Regions from separate parts of the Homo sapiens genome. Here region 1 is linked to region 2. Evidence: promoter capture Hi-C in human tissues and cell types (Jung and others, 2019). All regions are on one chromosome and are shown on one strand. The core of a region is centred on a gene start or on the middle of the fragment in contact, and the rest is flanking DNA. Distances in the headings are between cores, read along the strand shown.

What was found. The method cuts DNA at HindIII sites, captures the fragments that hold promoters and counts their contacts. A contact is called where the count stands out against the background at its distance.
Region 1: a fragment that was not itself captured here is called in contact with the fragment with the promoter of FAM180A in region 2 in 1 of the 25 tissues and cell types used here (small bowel).

What each region holds. Positions count from the first base shown.
Region 1 is chr7:135,782,541-135,788,817 of GRCh38, reverse strand. No RefSeq gene overlaps it. Among named protein-coding and RNA genes, the nearest start is that of FAM180A, 37 kb to the right of the region's middle. RefSeq lists a silencer at 4,068-4,250. The HindIII fragment of the contact is 7,973 bases long and covers 1-6,277 here.
Region 2 is chr7:135,744,394-135,750,783 of GRCh38, reverse strand. FAM180A (family with sequence similarity 180 member A) reads left to right here and starts at 1,971. Exons shown (of 4, transcript NM_205855.4): 1 at 1,971-2,279. The coding sequence starts at 2,204. RefSeq lists an enhancer at 4,334-5,533. The HindIII fragment of the contact is 9,123 bases long and covers 1-6,390 here.

The DNA.
Region 1 (6,277 bases), core at 1,494-3,993, 37 kb before region 2:
GCCTCCTGTGCTCCTCTCCTGCCCTCTGGCATCTGCTGGGCCAATTCCATTTATAACATATGTTGTAACAACATTCCACTTTATCCAGAAAGTTTTAAGGTCTCAATGCAGTCCCTCCCTAGAGACACCTGTGTTCCTTATGCAAATGCGCCCCAACTCTCTCCATCACAGCCAACTTGCTTGACATGTGTATTACCAATGAGCCATTCTATGAACTTGCCCAGAACAAGACAAGAGAAAGTAGTTAGGGACATAAAAATTGGAAAGGAAGAAGTCATCACTATTTAAAAATTCTATGATGATACACCAGAAAACTCAAGAAAACTGACAGGAAACCTATAGTAAACAATAAGAATATTTAATAACATAGCAGGCTACAGAATTAATAAACAAAGTAATTACCAGTCAGAAGATATAATAAGGGAGAAAGCCTCCATTTATAATAGGAACCAGAGAGAAAGAAGATAAAATAAACTTAACCCAAAAATTCCACAGCTATAGGAAACAAACTTGAAAACAGTTCTGAAGGAAAAAAGAAATAAGATTTGAACAAATAGATGAACTGTGTTGTGATATATCAATACTCTCTAAAGAAATTCACAAATTAAACATTATACCAATATAACTACCAATAGACTTCTCATTTTCTGGAGCTAGACAAGATAATTCTAAAGTCCTCCAAGAGGAATCAAGTAGGAAAATTCTGAAAAGCAAGAGCAAAGAGTGATATTAATGTACACTGTTGGCTGGGTGCAGTGGCTCATGCCTGTAGTCCCAAAACTTTGGGAGACCAAAGTGGGAGGATCGCTTGAAGCCAGGGGTTCAAGACAAGCCTGGGCAACATAGCAAGACTTAAGCTCTATCAAAAATTAAATAAAACTAGCTGGACATGGTGGTGTGTGCCTACACTCCCAGCTACTTGGGAGACTGATGTGGGAGGATCACTTGAGCCCAGAAGTTCAAGGCTGCAGTAAGCTATGATTATGCCACTGCCCTCCAGCCGAGGCAACAGAGTAAGATCTTGTCTCTTTAAAAAAAAAAAATGCTGTTAAGCCTCAAATTGTTAAATTATGTGGCACTAGACTATAAATCATCAGACAGACTAATGTAACAACATAGAAAACACAGAAATATTCTCAATTACATAAAGATTTGATATATGATAAGTTTGGGAACTCGGTGGGAGAAACATGAACTTTTCAATGAATGGTGCTATTACAACTGGATACACTTTCTGGAAAATGTTTTTAAACCATACCTTATGCCATACACCAGGATAATTTTCAAACGGAACGAGAATTTAAATGTAATGACCAAGAAAGCAACCTACCAGAAAACATGGAGAATTCTTTTATAAGCTCAGAATGGGTAAGACCCTCCCTGAATGATTCAAAATCCAGATGTCGTGAAATAAAAGATATAAAAATTGTACACCATAAAAATTAAAACATCTGCATGGATAAAAATAAAACAGTCAAATGACATATTACAGACAAAGAGAAATGACAAATTGAAAAATATTTGCAACTCACATCCCATTATACGAAAAATTCTTACAAATTGACAAGAAAAAGGCCAAAGACGCAAATAAAACTGGACAAAGGAGAGCCCACCAAAAGGAAATACAAATGTTCTACCTCTGTCATAATAAAAGATGCAAATTAAAGCCAATGAGATGCCAATTTCCCACTTAACAAGTTGGCAAGAATACAAAAGTTTAGTAAGGCAGAAGCCTGTAACTTATGGCTAGTGGGAGTGTAAACTGATACAAACTGTTTGGAAGCAATTTGGCAAAATTTATTAAATCAGAAAGGCATGTTCCTTTTGGCCCAAGAATTCCACTTCCAGGAATTTATCCTACCGTTATTTTTTTAACATGTGCAAAGTGACCTACCTACAATGTTATCCAGAAGTATTGTACACAAGAGCGAAAGACTGTAATCAGCTTAGGTGTACATCAAGAAGACACCGATTTTAAAAACTGTGGCACAGCCACAAAATAGAATGCTATGCAGCTCTAAAAAGGAATGAACAAACTTATCAAGAACTAATGTAGAAATGTCTTCAAGATACGATGTCAAGAGAAAAAAGTAAGGTACAAGAGAGTGTGTAGAGAACACTGCTAGTTGTTTTTTAAAAGTTGGAAGAGGAAAGAATATAGATTCATATTTGTTTGTACCCACTTTAAAAATACCTCTTGATTGGGAGGCCGAGGTGGGTGGATCATGAGGCCAGGAGTTCAAGACCAGCCTGGCCAACATGGTGAAATGCCATCTCTACAAAAGATACAAAGAATTAGCTGGGCGTGGTGGCACCTGCCTATAATCCCAGCTACTCAGGAGGCTGGGGCAGGAGAATCACTTGGACCTGGGAGGCGGAGGGTGCAGTGAGCCGAGATCGCGCCACTGCACTCCAACCTGGGTGACAGGGTGAGACTCTGTCTCAAAAAAATAAATAAATAAAATAAATACCTCTTGAAGTATACCCCCAAAACACTACATAATACTGTGTTTCTGCTATACGAATAGAAACTGGAAAAACTGGAAACAGGTTTATGAAGCAGCCATTTTACTATATCCATGTATAGTTTTCACTTTTGAATTGTGCAAGTATTACCTATTTTTAAAAGCAAATGGTAATTTTTTAAAAGAATATGGTAAAAAAAAAAAAAAAAAAAAAAGAGAGAGAGAGAGATTAAATGATGTTTCCCTTGCTTAACACAAGCTGTTAAAGCCACTCGTAGAAAACATCATAACATGAACTAGGCTGCTCTAAGCACGTCATGTAGGGGCCACTGTCTGGCATTCTACCCTCTCAACCCATGAGGCCCCTACTCCTAGGAGAGAAACAAGGAACTGTCAGCTCACAGTCCCTGCTTTGCAGCCCCACACCAACCAGCCATGAACTGGGAAAAAAAAAAAAAAAAAAGCAAAATTAGCCAGGCCCAAGAAAGTCTTTCTTTGGGAAACTAAAGCTAGTTTCCCAAACTGCATAGTAAACTTTGAATAAGTTTGTGCAAACTCAATATTATGAAGATACAACTATATAATTTGCAACTATATTTTAAGATTTTAAAAAAGTCCTTTTGGAAAAAGAACACAAATGACAAATGCACCTGACATCTCTCACTGGGTTCTCCATAATTTGTACTTTTAAATGTGATGCTGGTGTACTACAGTCTCTTAGAAGCAACATTTTAACTTCGTGGGTGCTCCACTACTTGTGAGCTTACTATTGGACATGGTATGGTTAGTTCTTATGTCTGAGATACCGCAAACATAGGCAAATGTAGGAATGAATATCTATGACAACCGTGGCTATTTAAGCCATTGAAGCAACAAAACATCTTGACCTGGGCTGTCACTCTCTGGGTTAAAATGAAGAAGTTGAGGCATCTGTCTAGTCCTTCACGGATGCCTACTGTTGATCTACCCTACTCTATAGACTTGTGTGCCACTTCTTCCTTCTCCTACTCCTACTCCTTCTTTCTTCTTCTTTTCTTTCTCTTCCTCCTCTTCCTCCATCCTCTCTTCTTCTTCCTCCTCCTCTTCTTTTTCTCCTCCTCCTCCTTCCTTCTAGCTAAGCTACTGCTGTGGTTTTTTCTATATTCCCAGCCAGGTTTCCTAAGGTACCAGAGACAAAGGAGAGAGCAAAGGAGGGGCTGGGAAGGCTGGAGTCTTCTTCCACCTTCCTCCCCACTCCATAGCACTATTTTGCCTTCCTCACCTGCCTAAGCCCTATTCATTCTTAAGATTCAAGAAAGTTGTCACCTCTTTCAAGAAGCCTTCTCTGACTCCTCTCTACAGCATTGAGTGCCTGTCATTATGTTCCTTCATAATTTCCTGTGCCTGTTATCAAAGCATTAATCACCCTGTACTATCATTGTCTTCTGCGTGTCCACTTTCTCCTAAACTGTAAGCTCTTGAAGGCTAGGGGTGCACTTCATTCATGTGAATCCTTAAAGACTAGAATGTATCACCTGGCACAAAGTAGGTGCTCAGCAAACATTCAACACATAAAGGATGAGGTGGGAGAGAGGAAATCTGACCAACCAATGCTTAGGAGGCAACAGGGTGCAAATGTTTCCTTCTGCCATCAGCCAACGCAGGAGGCTAATTAGGGAAGCCTAGGAAGTGCTTGGACTGTCCATGAGATGTGAGTTCTGCTAGCAAATCTTTAAGTGGATCATCTTAACCATCCGGTCCACGGACAGTTAGGCATGACCAGGAGGAGAACAATCGCACGCCCTGTTTTCCCATAAAGCACCTGAGACATAGAACCTGTGCCCACAGGGGCTGAAGGAGCTCGGAGGCAAGCGAGTGCAATGTGACTCTTGGGGGGCCTCTCTGGAAAGCTGAGTCTCAAAGAAAGGAAGTTCAAGAGCTGGTTTGTTACAGAAGTAGTGGGAAGAGGGGACAGGACTAACGGCAAGGTGGCTAGGACCAGCCCATTACAGGGGTAGAAATGAGCCTCTCTCTTCCCCTACCACCTTTCTTCTCCTTCCCCGCTACCACTATCCTGAGACTACGAGGCTGTAAGCTAGAGGCGAAAGATTGTGCAATAAAGCCCAAATTATGATAATGGTAGTGAGAATACAGCAGGAGAAGGAGGAAGACCAAGCAGACCTGAGTCAGGGAGGGAGGAATTGCGTGAGCAGAGGTGGAGAATTCAGATCCTCTCCGGACTAGAACAGAAAGTACAGACCATGAGTAACCGCAAAACAATAGGGTTGAATGGGTAGAGAGCCATCGAGGGGAGAACAGAGGTGGCAATGGGGAGGTATTTTGTGTTCTTAAGTAAGGACATAACAAAAGCAGTGTTTTGATAAGAACAACTTGACAGAGAGATGCAGGGTGGTTAGAGCAAAGCCTCTTAGGAGGCTGATAGACTGATCAAGGATTCTCCACGAAAGCTGTTACAGTGGTGGGGGTTAGAATAAGAGTTAAAGCAAGTGTTTCATTTTTAAGGAAGAAATCATTACTGCCTGGAGGACAGATTAGATATAAGGTGTGACGTGTAAGGAAGAGTTATCATAGAGGATTCCAAAGTTTCTGTGACTTGACTGAAAAACCAGAAGTTCCCTTGGTGGGAACTGGGTAATAGAGGAAGAAAGCTGGGATTTGGGATGGGAAGATAATTAAGGAGCTTAATTAATGAGATTAGTGAGACTGTAGGGAGAAGCACATTAAGGCGAAGGCAGAATCATCTACAGGAAACACCCTCATGTGGTTCTTTACTTGGAGGAAGGAACCTCACATGACTGTCTTTAACATCAACCATACCGGACTCCCTGACAACATGAGTACAGCATGCTGTCATATTTTAACTCAATGATGACTTTTATATTATGTGATTTTTTTTTTTTTGAGATGGAGTCTCGCTCTGTCGCCCAGGCTGGAGGGCAGTGCCGCGATCTTGGCTCACTGCAACCTCTACCTCCCAGGTTCAAGCAATTCTCCTGCCTCAGCCTCCCAAGTAGCTGGGATTATAGGCACGTGTCACCATGCTCGGCTAATTTTTATATTTTTAGTAGAGACAGGGTTTCACCATGTTGGCCAGGCTGGTCTCGATCTCCTGACCTCAGGTGATCCGCCCACCTCAGCCACCCAAAGTGCTAGGATTACAGGCGTGAGCCACTGTGCCCAGCCTATATTATGTGATTTTTAAGACCATTGCATATAAACTCAGAAAAAGTTTGAAAGTTCACTGCTACTTTAGTGCTCACTATTTTTGGACTCACAGCATCACCGGGCGTTATTAACATCCCTGACTCACAAGCTCCGAATGAGCCTCTCTCAGGCAGTTCCCTACTCACCAATTTGCAAGCAGGTCCGTGTTTGCATTTTGGCCCTCCCATAATTATGTGTGTATTTGTTTGTACATCTCACATCATACCACTGTTAGGACCTTGACCTTTGATTGAATACGGTTTCAATCAGGTGCCCAAACTTCATAGAAATTACATCTTTTCTTAGTCAACTTTTCATGGAAGACCAGTGCTTTCAAATTGCCTTACTCGGAAGGAAAAAGCAGCTCAGGCTAGAAATATTCTTCCAGAAATACACTCCCTGTCCCAAACCAAGTCAACATGGAGAAGTCATCCTCGCTCCTACCCTTCAATATTCCACCAGAACAGGGGATGGGAAAGGAGGGAAGTGGGGGATGGTGAGGCGGAAGAGACCAGGCAGACCTGCCAGGGAAGACAGCCTTGGCAAGGAAGGAAGGGGGACAGCCACCAGAGCTCCATGTGACTCCACTCAATGGGGAGCAGAAGCAG
Region 2 (6,390 bases), core at 722-3,221:
TGGTGTGACTTGAGAAGTGCTATAAGTGTGAAATACACATTAGATTTCAAAGACCTCATGTAAATATTATATATATATATATAAAATATCTTGCTAATACTATATCACTTACTTGTAGAAATGATAATATCTTGGATATATTGAATTAAATGAAAGATATTATTACTATTCATTGCACTTGTTTCTTTTTACTTTTTCTATTTTTTATTTTTTTGAGATGGAGTTTCACTCGTGTTGCCCAGGCTAGAGTGCAGTGGCACCATCTCGCCTCACCACAACCTTCACCTCGCAGGCTCAAGAGACTCTCCTGCCTCAGCCTCTCGAGTAGCTGGGATTACAGGTGTGCACCACCATGCCCGGCTAATTTTTGTATTTTTAGGAGAGACGAGGTTTTGCCATGTTGGCCAGGCTGGTCACGAACTCCTGACCTCAGGTGATCCGCCTGCCTCGGCCTCCCAAAGTGCTAGGATTACAGGCGTGAGCCACTGCACCCAGCCTCTTTTTACTTTTTTTTAGTATGAGTTGTAGAAAATGTTAAGTGACGTTTGTGATTCACGTTACATTTCTGTTGGAGAGTGCTGCTGGCTAGTGCCCTAACCTCCTAGTTCGGTGGATGCATTAAATCAGTTAATGCAAGGAGGGCACCTAGCACGCTGTCTGAAGCAAATTAAGCACCTAATAGCTATTATTAATATTAGTGAGCGTACTGGTTTTCAAATGTTGTAGTCTAGTATTTTTTCCCCCAAAAAAACTGGTTGTTTTTTTTTTAATTTTTTTAAGAGGAAAGTTCTTACTCTGTCACCCAGGCTGGAGTAGAGTGTTGTGATCATAGCTCACTGCAGCCTTGAACTCCTGGGCCTAAACAATCCTTCTGCCTCAGCCACCTGAGTGACTAGGACTACAGGCACATGCCACCACGCCCAGCTAATTTTTTAATTTTTTGTAGAGACAGGGTCTATTTTCTCTAGGTTGGTCTTGAACTTCTGGCCTCAAGCAATTCCCCCACTTCGGCCTCCCAAAGTGTTGGGATTACAGGCGTGAACCACCATGCCCGGCTCCCAAACAACTTCTTATAGCAGATAAAAGAGGAGCTTTTGCAGTAGAGTAGAGCTTTGAGGAGCCCTCTTGGGGAGCCCATTCACCCTGGGCACCACCTCCACAAACTGGAAAACCCACAGGATGACATAATCTTTAAGTGTCCTTCAAGCTTTAGCATTCCCTATCATTTCAGAGAAGTTGAGGAAGTGATTGGGAAAGAATTAAGGTGTCTATGGCAGTATATTACAACGACTATGGAAAAACACTCCCATTTTGCTTGGGAAAATCAAAGTGGCTTGGCCCCAGGTCTAGGCACAGCCCAGAAATGGGAGCATCACCAATGTGAGTTGTGGGGCTTGGCCCCAGGTCTAGGCACAGCCCAGAAATGGGAGCATCACCAATGTGAGTTGGGGGTCCCCGTGGGCTCCTGGATCATTACCTACGCACGTTCACACAGACAATACCGATGCACCATGTCACCTCTCCACTTCGGCTCGGTCACAACCTGCCAACTCCCCACCCACCCAGAACCTGGGCAGACCAGACACAGGCTCTAGGCGCCAATGTCCTAGTCTAGCTCCAGGGCCAGGCAACAGTGACACTCAGCCCAGGCACCACAATGATTTTGCTGTCCTGAAGGCAACTTAGGCTCAACCAGCCCTGGTGTCTGCCAGGCAGGCTCCCAACTCTGCCTCCAGCCCTCGCCCCTGGCTCTGGTATCGTATGTGTGGACGGGGAGAGCAGCCAACTCTTCGCCGGGCTCTCTAACAAGTTCCGCGGGTCTGTTTGTTAAAGAAAAATTCCAGTGGGTGCATCCAACACATGGAACTCAAGTACAGAAATTATATTTATCCGCCCCACTGCCAAGGAGATCACATGCCCCGTGAGTCACTCCAGATGTGCTCAAAAACAGAGTCTCTCTGTGGAAGGCCAGTTCCCCAATCCCAGAGAGCGTCAAATGAAGAGAGGTACCGACTCCTGTCCCACCCAGGACGCAGCCTTCAGCCTCCAGCCTTCTGAGGCAGAGTAGGCATTTCTGCACGTCTGCAAAAGGAAGGGAGGGAAGCACTCCATCATCTCACTGGGAAGAACGGCACGGGCATACCTGCAGCTACTGGGGTTCCACTGGGCTTGAGGGTCGATTTTTCACCTTTTGAAGGACAAGATGCATTGGAAGATGTTGCTGCTTCTGCTGTTGTATTACAATGCTGAGGCTTCTATGTGCCACAGGTGGAGCAGGGGTGAGTTGCTTTTTATTCATTTGTTTGTTTGATGCTCATTATACTTTCTTCAATGCAATTCAAAATTTGGAGGGAAGGACATTAGAAGCCCCGCACTCTCCTTTTGTCTAATCTCTGTCAATTCCTTGATGCTTCTTGACGTGTTCCCCCTTCTTAGAGGGTGATGGGGAAATGACACTGGAAAAAATCAAAGCTCCTGAGGGAATTAGGTTGAGGTGGAGAACCCAGAGAGTACCCCTTTCTGGCATCCCAGAGAGAACTCATTTCTGCTTCATAGAAAGTAGAACTCATTTCTTCGACTGCCCCCACCACCTGCAGCAGTTGGGCCAGACCGTCTGGAGAGCAGGTGCTGAGACCTGCTGCTAAAATGATGGAGTGATGGGCACTGGGATGCCAAAGGCCTGCTCCCTGGGGGAACCAGAGCAGAAGCTCTGCAGAACGTTGCCTCCTCACCGGGAGGGGATGCATCTCTGCAGCCAGAGGTGGGCAGGTGAGGAGAGCAACCCTTCAACCTCCACTGCACCCACCAGCTCCGCCACCTCCTCACAAAGGAAGGGGCCCCAGCAAAGGCTGTTCTCTTATCACTGACTTCCTCCCCCTCAGGATGTAGTTCCTCCTAGCTGGATGGCATCTTTTCTCCATTTCCCTGGGAGTGGCTCTGCTTGGTAGACACTGGGAGCACCTCGAGCCAGAGTTTATCACTGTTAGGAAAGGAGGGACCCACGGCACTGCCCACTCTTCACCAATATGAACGGAAATCTTTCCACTGCCTAAAGTCAACTGAGTTCACTCTCCTAGAAAGAACCGCAAGAAGAACAGGCTCCTTCAAGTCAGGCCAGTAGGTGTTTCTAGAGATGCAAAATTGGAAGGCAACTGGCATGGTGGCATGGATGCGCCTCCTGCTTGCTTCTCAAGGACAGTGTCAGGGAAGGAAGGAGTGGCCGGAGTGGGGATAGAGCAGCGCGAGAGAAGGATCTGAAATGGGAGGGAGGCAAAAGCTACTGTACTTATGCTGGGTTTTATTTCCTCATGGTTAAACGTGACATTAGGGACTTACATCTCTAACAGGGATATAAGTCTTTTGAGCTGAGCTGTGAAGTGATCGTTGCCCAGAAACAAATAATACAGCATTCTTCATTTTTCTCATAACAACCTTGCATACACATGCACATACACACGTACACCCCTCCCTTTTCTTTTTTTAATTTTTAATTTTTAATTTCTGTGGGCACATAGTAGGTATACATATTTATGGGGCCTATGAGATGTTTTGATACAGGCACGTCACATCATGGAAGATGGGGTATCCATCCCCTCAAGCATTTAGCCTTTGTGTTACAAACAATCCAGTGATACCCTTTTAGTTACTTTTATTTGTTATTTATTTACTTATTTATTTATTTTTGAGACGGAGTCTCACTCTGTTGCCCAGGCTGGAATGCAGGGGTGCAATCTTGGTTCACTGCAACCTCCGCCTCCCAGGTTCAAGCGATTCTCGTGCCTCAGTCTCCTGAGTAGCTGGAGTTACAGGTGCGCACCACCACGCCTGGCTAATTTTTGTATTTTTAGTAGAGATGGGGTTTCACCATGTTGGCCAGGCTGCTCTCAAACTCCTGACCTCAAGTGATCTGCCCACCTCAGCCTCCCAAAGTTCTGGGATTATAGGCATGAGCCATAGTGCCTGGCCCTCTTTTAGTTCTTTTTAAATGTACAATTAAATTGTTATTGACTGTAGTCACCCTGTTTTCACACCTCCCTTTTCATTGTGTGCACAAACTTTGAGGTAGCACTTGGAAGTAAAAAGCAAAGAGATCTTGGAGTTGGGTTCTGTCACTCCCCTCTTTGTCACACTGGGGATTTGCTTATTAAACAGGGTAACAGTGCCCACTCTTCCTAAGGCACAGGCTATTACAAAGCCAAAAGGGATTATTTGACTTGCAATATGGTTTGTAAACACGATAGCCACATCATGAGCTACTCTGCAAGGGTCCTGGTTTAAGTTCCATCTCTATTTGGCAATGTGATCTCAGACAAGTCTCTTAACCTCTCTGAGCTTTAGTTCACTAACGGGTGACATTAACATCCATCACATCAATAAAACCCTCATGCTATTACTGTGAGGGTCATATTCAAAAATATAGATGAAAATACTTTGTAAATGACAAAGCACAATATAAATATTAGCTATTGCCTACCAGTTTTTGAAAAATAAAAATTTTTCATTAAAGGAAGTTTAAGGCTCTTAACAGGGGAATCTACAGCAACATTCTGGGAGCAACTTCTCCGGGCCATGTCCTTCCGCATTGGGGAAGGTCTTTCCACAGTGAGTTCACAATCCACTGACTCAAAGCCAGCCAAACCGAGGTCACTATGAGGCAGCGGATGTGACGTGCTAGATTAATGGCTCAAGTCAGCGCTGAGTCAACAAATGATACAGAGTCCCTCCAACCATCATCAAATGTCTTCCGCGTAGTTGATTTTTTTTTCATTTTTAACATTTTTTTCTAATTATAAAAGAAATACACAATTCTTGCCATCTTTTTTTTCAAGACTGAATAGGAGTCACACCCAAATGAGTAAGTTTTTCCAAATGTATTATTCATTTCACCTTCATCCTTACCCCCACCCTACCTCCAGCCTCAATTCAAAGTACTCCCTTTGGAAACAGTCTTAGGGCAATCTCTTCCAGAGCTTTTCCTCTTCCACCCCCTGCCCTTTGGCCCCCAGCCCCACCACTACCCCGTGTCCATCCTCCCACCCTCCTGCTCCAAAATGTAAATGTAGATGTAAACCCACAGGCAATATGCGCCTTGTTGTTAGCACTGTCTTTTTCCTACCATCCTCCCAGCCTTTCCCTAAGCGCTCTCTAGGATTCCACCCTGGGAGGCAGCTTTCCATGCCAGGATCCAGGATCACCCATTCCAGCCCCACCAGTTTGATGAAGACCAAATGACTCACCTGTGGCCAAGCCAGGAAAGCCACATCTACACACACACACACATACACACACACAGAAACACACACACACACACACAGGTGGCCCACGTCCCAGCACATACCAGGTCCTGCCAGGGCACCACTGGAAGGGGGAGGACTAGCCAGACTTGAGAAAGAATTATGCACCTATTAAGGATATGAATGAAATATGCACCTATTAAGGATATGAATAGCTATGCTTTTGTTGAATACATACAAGTTATTTTTTAAGTAGTTTAATAGAGCAGCCCTTCCATTTTTTGGTGGACCTTATGTCATTTTCAGGTGTCCATTTAAGGGTTGTGTGTGTCCTCAGTCATGAATGTTCCATGAGGGAAAGGCCTGTGGTCAGTACTCAGTAAGTACTCACTGACTGCCGGGCACGGTGGTGCACGCCTATAATTCCAGTGACTCAGGGGAAAGTTAAAAAAAAAATTAGCTGGGTGTAGCAGCACATGCCTGTAGTCCCAGCTACTCAGAAGGTTAAGGTGGTAGGATCACTTAAGGCAAGGAGATCAAGGTGGTAGGATCACTTAGGCCCAGGAGGTCAACGATGCAGAGAGCTATGATTGCGCCACTTCACTCCAGCCTGGATGATGGAGCAAGACCCTGTATCCAAAAAGAAAATTGTTTTAAGTATTCACTGCCCAAGTGCCCCATACAGAGCCATCTCCTCTCTCCATAGTAACTCTGTGAGGCAGGTGCTATCCTAACCATTTACAGGTTAGAAAATTGGAGAGTGAGGCAAGAAGTGAAGTGACCCAGCTCCCCCAGCTGCAAGGGCAGAGTTGAATTTGATCCCCCAGGTCCATCTGCTGGCAGAGTGCCCCGTCCTCATTCATCCGCTCTGCATATTTCTCCATCCCCCATGGGCCACTCACCTGCTCCCGGCAGCCCCAAGCTCCCCCCTACATGGTGGAGCTTTCCAGCCAAGAGGAGCTGGCTGCCAGAGCCCTTTCAGGAGCTCTCCCAGAGGACCCCCACGCACAGGGCCGAGACCCTGGCTCGCTCAGAATAGCACTCTGTTTCCAGAGGGCTGGCCCAGGAGTCAAAAAGTAAATGACATCAGTCAGATCTGGCAAAAGATCTTTTACAAACGAGAGCTTTTCCTTTCCACACCCACCGTCCTTTCCAT